Linked DNA regions of Homo sapiens: region 1 is linked to region 2. The links are contacts of gene promoters, found by promoter capture Hi-C in blood cells and fetal thymus (Javierre and others, 2016). All regions are on one chromosome and are shown on one strand. Each heading gives the region's core, a stretch centred on a gene start or on the middle of the fragment in contact. The rest is flanking DNA. Distances are from core to core; before and after follow the strand shown. Region 1 holds the start of ZNF547 (zinc finger protein 547). Region 2 holds the start of ZNF836 (zinc finger protein 836).

Evidence for each region. The method cuts DNA at HindIII sites, captures the fragments that hold promoters and counts their contacts. A CHiCAGO score of 5 or more calls a contact.
Region 1: a contact is called between the fragment with the promoter of ZNF547 here and the fragment with the promoter of ZNF836 in region 2, in 1 of 17 cell types (total CD4 T cells). The highest score is 6.9, in total CD4 T cells.

The regions. Positions count from the first base shown.
Region 1 is chr19:57,362,125-57,364,824 of GRCh38, reverse strand. It overlaps ZNF547 (zinc finger protein 547), which reads right to left and starts at 1,274. Exons shown (of 4, transcript NM_173631.4): 1 at 1,122-1,274. It overlaps TRAPPC2B (trafficking protein particle complex subunit 2B), which reads right to left and starts at 1,274. Exons shown (of 2, transcript NM_001355204.2): 1 at 1,122-1,274; 2 at 1-10. RefSeq lists enhancers at 1,222-1,601, 1,642-1,721. The HindIII fragment of the contact is 1,910 bases long and covers 1-1,892 here.
Region 2 is chr19:52,170,362-52,173,061 of GRCh38, reverse strand. ZNF836 (zinc finger protein 836) reads left to right here and starts at 1,441. Exons shown (of 5, transcript NM_001102657.3): 1 at 1,441-1,726. RefSeq lists a silencer at 1,273-1,322 and an enhancer at 1,903-2,042. The HindIII fragment of the contact is 2,622 bases long and covers 1,191-2,700 here.

The DNA.
Region 1 (2,700 bases), core at 25-2,524, 5.2 Mb before region 2:
TATATGGCTCCTGCAGCGGGAGGCCGACAACGGAAACGCAATGTCAGTTTCCGCGGAAGAGACCCGCGCTCCGCACCTTTTTTTGACACGGAATCTCGCTCTGTCGCCCAGGCTGGAGTGCAATGGCGCGATCTTGGCTCACTGCAATCTCCACCTCCTGGGTTCAGGCAATTCTCCTGCCTCAGCCTCCCGAATAGCTGGGATTACAGGCGCGCGTCACCACCCCCGGCTAATTTTTGTATTTTTACTAAAGACGGGGTTTCACCATGTTGGTCAGGCTGGTCTTGAACGCCTGACCTTGTGATCCGCTCGCCTTGGCCTCCCAAAGTGCTGGGATTACCGGCGTGAGCCACCACGCCCGGCCACCCTCTATTCTTTTGAAGAATCTACACCAGTTCTCCTCTGTAGACTCCACACCTTTCTGTCCCCCTACCCATGTGACATTTTCAACTTGAGACGCCTGAGAATCACACTGGCCAAACTCCAACCCATGATCTTCTCCATGAAACCTACTTCTCATGCTGCTGACTTCCCCAACTTCATTCTTTCAGATGTTCGGGCAAAAAAAAAAAAATGACCCTTCACTCCCTATTTTTGCTCACAGACATATCTGATACGGCAGGAAAACCTGTTGGCTCTATCTTCCAGGTCTATCCAGAATCCCATCACATTGTCCCTCTTATACCACGGCTCTGGTGCAGCCTCTGGGATCCACTGCAGTGGCCTCTTCTGGGTCTCTCTGTGTCAATTCCCCATCCTGCTCGTTCTAACTCTGGACCTGCCCCTCCCACTGGTCTTCCCTTGACAACCTTCCATGGTTATACCGGCTGCTCAGGCTGCCATTCCAAGAGAAAATTCACAAAACCCTCTCTTTCCCGCAGAAACAACCCACACTCCGGGCTCCCCGACGCGGCCCACTTGGCAGCACCTCCATGCTCTGAACCTGAGATCCCCGAAGGGAGCTCTGAGGCTGCATCAAACCAGCTGATACGGGGACCCCACACAGGAACGCCCCTCTCTTCGAGACAAGGGGCCTGACCTGCAGGGCCCCTTCTATGGGCTTCAGCACTGGAAGGAGGGGTCGGGCGGAGGTGGGGGGGGGCCTGGGACGGGGCACCCACCTCGGGTTCTTCGGCGGGGACTCCGCAAGTCCAGCCAGGGAAGAGAGGGGCGGGGGCGACAAAGGCAAGACAAGGACACCGCCGTCCCCAGTCCTTGTCAGCTGAGCTTCTGCCACTGTCAGTTGTGCCTGTGTCACTACCGCCTCTGCGTACAAGGAACCAAGCCGCTTCTCGCGCTTTTCCGCTCCGTCACTTCGGTGACGTCATAGAGCGCCAAAGGCCGGAACTAGTGAAAACACCAGAGAAAATCAAATCAACCACGGCAAGAGGACGCCGGAAGTCCCGCCCTCCTACGATGCGCGAGCACGAGGACGGACGCACGCACGCACGCACGCACGCAAAGGTTCCTTCCTGCACATTCATTGGGTCAGTCGCGCTGCCGAGAACCGCAGTGTCTTCTGGGTTATGAAGTTTCGACACCGCTTCTGGACTTGCCTTAGAGCGTTGGTCAGTCCTTATATGGCGGATAGAGGCTCAGTGGCACCGTCAGGGGAGCTGGTAAACAGAGTGCCGGACTCCACGGACAGGACGGGGCTTGGGTTGCTCTTAAAGGCGACATAACCAGATTTTCTTGAAGTAAGGTCTAGGATACTCACAGAAATGTGAGGGACCTATGATATCGGATTGTGAAGCACAGCAAGTTCTCAACGGCTACACCGCCAAAGGGACACACTATACCACAAAGGCACTCTGTCTCTACTCATGCCTCTCAGCCATATGTTGCTTTTCAAATACACATACAGTTAAACTTTGACTTCTATTTATTAAGCTTCAATATGGTTGGTCCAAGAGAACAAAGAAAGACTACATGGCTGGGAATTTGCACAAAAGAAGACAGGAGATACCGACGTAGATTGAAAGGGTGACGCTGTGCCTCTGGATCCAGAAGAAAACATCATTACTGTCTGTAGAGTCAGTGATTGTGTTCCTACCAAGAGTGCAATGCTTTTATTCTAATAATACTTATTACTTCATGTCTGAAATATTTTACATTTATTTTAAAAGTCTCAATCCTGTCTGAAAATGAGAGTGACTGATACATGCCATTTCCTGACAGGACATTTTGTGCCATTCCATAGTTGGAGTATATGTACACAGGGAACGTATTATCCCCAATAAAAACTGTGAACTTTCATGATCTTATCTCCTTCCTGAGAAGTGAGTTATCATTTTACAGGGAGTTGAAATTATCTGTGAAAATACTTGTGAAATGAAAATTACAGAAATCTATTAATAATAACTGTTAGGTTTTGAAGGGAAGGCGAGGGTTAAAGAAAGGCAGAGTTGGCAGCTCTACAGCAATGCAGGTTTTATGTCCAGCACGAGACCTGTGATGGGGAGAACTAGCTTAGTGCCAGAACCCCTCACTGCTTACAGGCTGGGGCAATTATAGGCCTGGATGAGAGGGGTCAGGGGTGGGGGGCAGGGGGCGCGGCGGGAGGGTATGACTTGCTGCCCAGGAGGATGGTGGGTTTTTTTTTGTTTTTGGAGGAGTCTCGCTCTTGTCGCCCAGCCTTGAGTGCAATGGCGTGATCTCGGCCCACTGCAACCTCCGCCTCCCGGAGTTCAAGCGATTCTT
Region 2 (2,700 bases), core at 192-2,691:
TCACTGCAAGCTCCGCCTCCTGGGTTCACGCCATTCTCCTGCCTCTGCCTCCGGAGCAGCTGGGACCACACGCACCCGCCACCACGCCCGGCTAATTTTTTGCATTTTTAGTAGAGACAGGGTTTCACCGTGTTAACCAGGATGGTCTCGATCTCATGACCTTGTGATCCGCCCGCCGCGGCCTCCCAAAGTGCTGGGATTATAGGCATGAGCCACCGCGCTTGGCCAACAATGATTTTTTAGGGACGTGATTCAGCTCATAACATTCTGTACTCTGGACTCCCAAAATTCATGTCCTTCTCACATGCAAGATCCCTTCACCCCCATCCTAACATCTCAAAAGTCTTATTATTATTATTTTTTGAGACAGAGTCTCACTCTGTTGCCCTGGCAGCAGTTCAGTGGTGCAAAGACAACTCATTGCAGCCTTGATCCCCTGGGCTCAAGAGATCCTCCCACCTCAGCCTCCCAAATAGCTGTGACTATAGGCGTGAGCCACCATGCCTGGCTAATTTTTGTATTTTTTGTAGAGACAAGGGTCTTACTATGTTGCCCCAGGTTGGTCTTGAATTCTTGAGCTCAAGCAATCCTTCCACCTTGGCCTCCCAAAGAGCTGGGATTACAGGCCAGAGCCACTGCTCCTGGCCCATTTCAAAAGTCTTAATCCATTTCAGTATCAAACTCTAAGGCCCAAATATTACCCAAATATTATCTGAATCACATATGGGTGAGACTCAAAGTGTGGTTCATCCTGAGGCAAAATTTCTGTCCAGCTGTGAAACTGTGAAGCCAAAGAAGCTATTTGCTTCCAAAATACAATGGTGGGACAGGCACAGGATAGACCGTCAGCCCTGGAAACCACCCTTCTACTCTGTTACTGTAATTTTGATGTTTGTAGATTGCACATGTAAGTAAGCACATGCAGGATTTGTCTTTCTGTGTCTAGCACATTTCGCTTAGCATAATGTCTTCAGGGTTCCTGGATCCAGCCACGGCTGCACATCAGATCTTCACGGAGATCCTAGTTCCCTGACTACTGAGTAACTTCAGCCTTAACTGGCTTCAGCCTCACTGGCAAGACCCGATGGAGTCCACCAGGCTCGCAAAAATCGATTTTGACTTAAATCAGTTCAACTTGACAAGAAGAAAACATCTTAGTTTCCAACAGAAGTGGACCACAACTTTAAGCTTTGACCTTAAAGTCTAAAACATTAACTTAAAATAGGCAGGAAGCAACGCTGCTTCACAGGACAAGAAATAGTCACAAATACTCCTAAATCGGGAGAACAAAGACTTGCTGGGTGGAAGGCAGAGCGAATAACAGGCCCCGCCCACCAAACAGGTCCCGCCCACACCGCCCGTCCCGCTTAGCCCACCTGGCCCCGCCCACTACCGCATCAGCCTTGCCCCACCCTTTCAGGGTTCCCAAATCTGGCCAGTCTTTCTGCCCTTTCCCTTGCGGGTCGCACCCCGCCCAGGCCCCTCTCCCGCCCCAGGTCTCTCAGTCTTTTTTCTCAGGGCGTGTAGCTTCCTGCACACCCGGAAGCAGATCGCGCGGGGAAAAGATCACAGCGCTGCGCGTCAGTTTCCGTCTACCTGGACTAAACATTTGCTTCGCCCCGTCTGCCTGAATCGAACGTGCACTTGGCAGTCTTCCCTTGTCCATACCCGTTTCCTGGGGATCGCTACGGACCTTAAAATACCAGCAACAGCCCCTTCGCCCCAAGTAAGTCTGATAATTGCTTCCCTTTCGGTTTAAAAATCTCTCTGAGGCTGTTCCTTGCTCCCTGCCTTTCTGCCTTAGGACCATGTAGACAACCCCACTCAGGTCGTGTTCCTGCTTAAAACCCTTACTGACCTCTGCTTCGGCCCTGCGCCAAGTCGAGTCCTCACTCGGGAGGTGGATTCCCGCCCGTTGCGACCCCGGAGCTTCTCCGTCGTCAGCCCCTGGAGGGGAGCGCCCGCCGTCCGGCTCCTGAAGGAGTCGCTTCTCCTCCCAGGTCCTGGGATTCTGCAGACCCTCCCTGTCCTGAGACACCGTACCCCCTGCCACCTTGTGTCCTCCTCACGCCGGGTCCTTTCGCTCCCCAGGCTTCCCCTTCACAGCCACTGCTTTTCTCGATCCCCCCCTTGGGGGAGGTCACCTGAGTCTTGTGACACCCAGTGTTCTTCCTTCCCAAATTTTACTCCACTGGAAAATATGCTTTTCCGGGAGGTGGGCATCCTATTCCTCCCCTTTCTTACTGAATGTGTGGGTGAGAGGGATCAGGAGAGGAAAAGAAGGGGAGCGACGGAGCAAAAGGAAAGACCGAATAGAAGAGAATGAGGGAGACCCATAAATACACGGCAAAATGGATGATAATTTAGGGATTTGCAAAGAGACAGCAAGAGTGAAAGAGAACGAATGGAGAAAGAAGCAGGGGGAGGAAAGCACACAGAGAAATTTAGAAAAAAAGGGGGACCTTCAGAGAGATGAAAGGCAGCAAAATAGAGTGGGGCGGCAAAGGAGGAGGCACTGCAGACAGACAGTGGGGAGAAGGTGAAAGAGTTGGAGCCGCAGCCGACAGAGCTACGTGGTGCTGGGACTGAAAGAGAGGGAGAGAGGGCAGTGGGTGACAAGCAGAGTAGAGGGAGAACCACAGCAGGGAGGAAGCCTAGGGAGTTGGGGGTGCTAGAGAGTGGGAACAAAGGAGGTGTAAC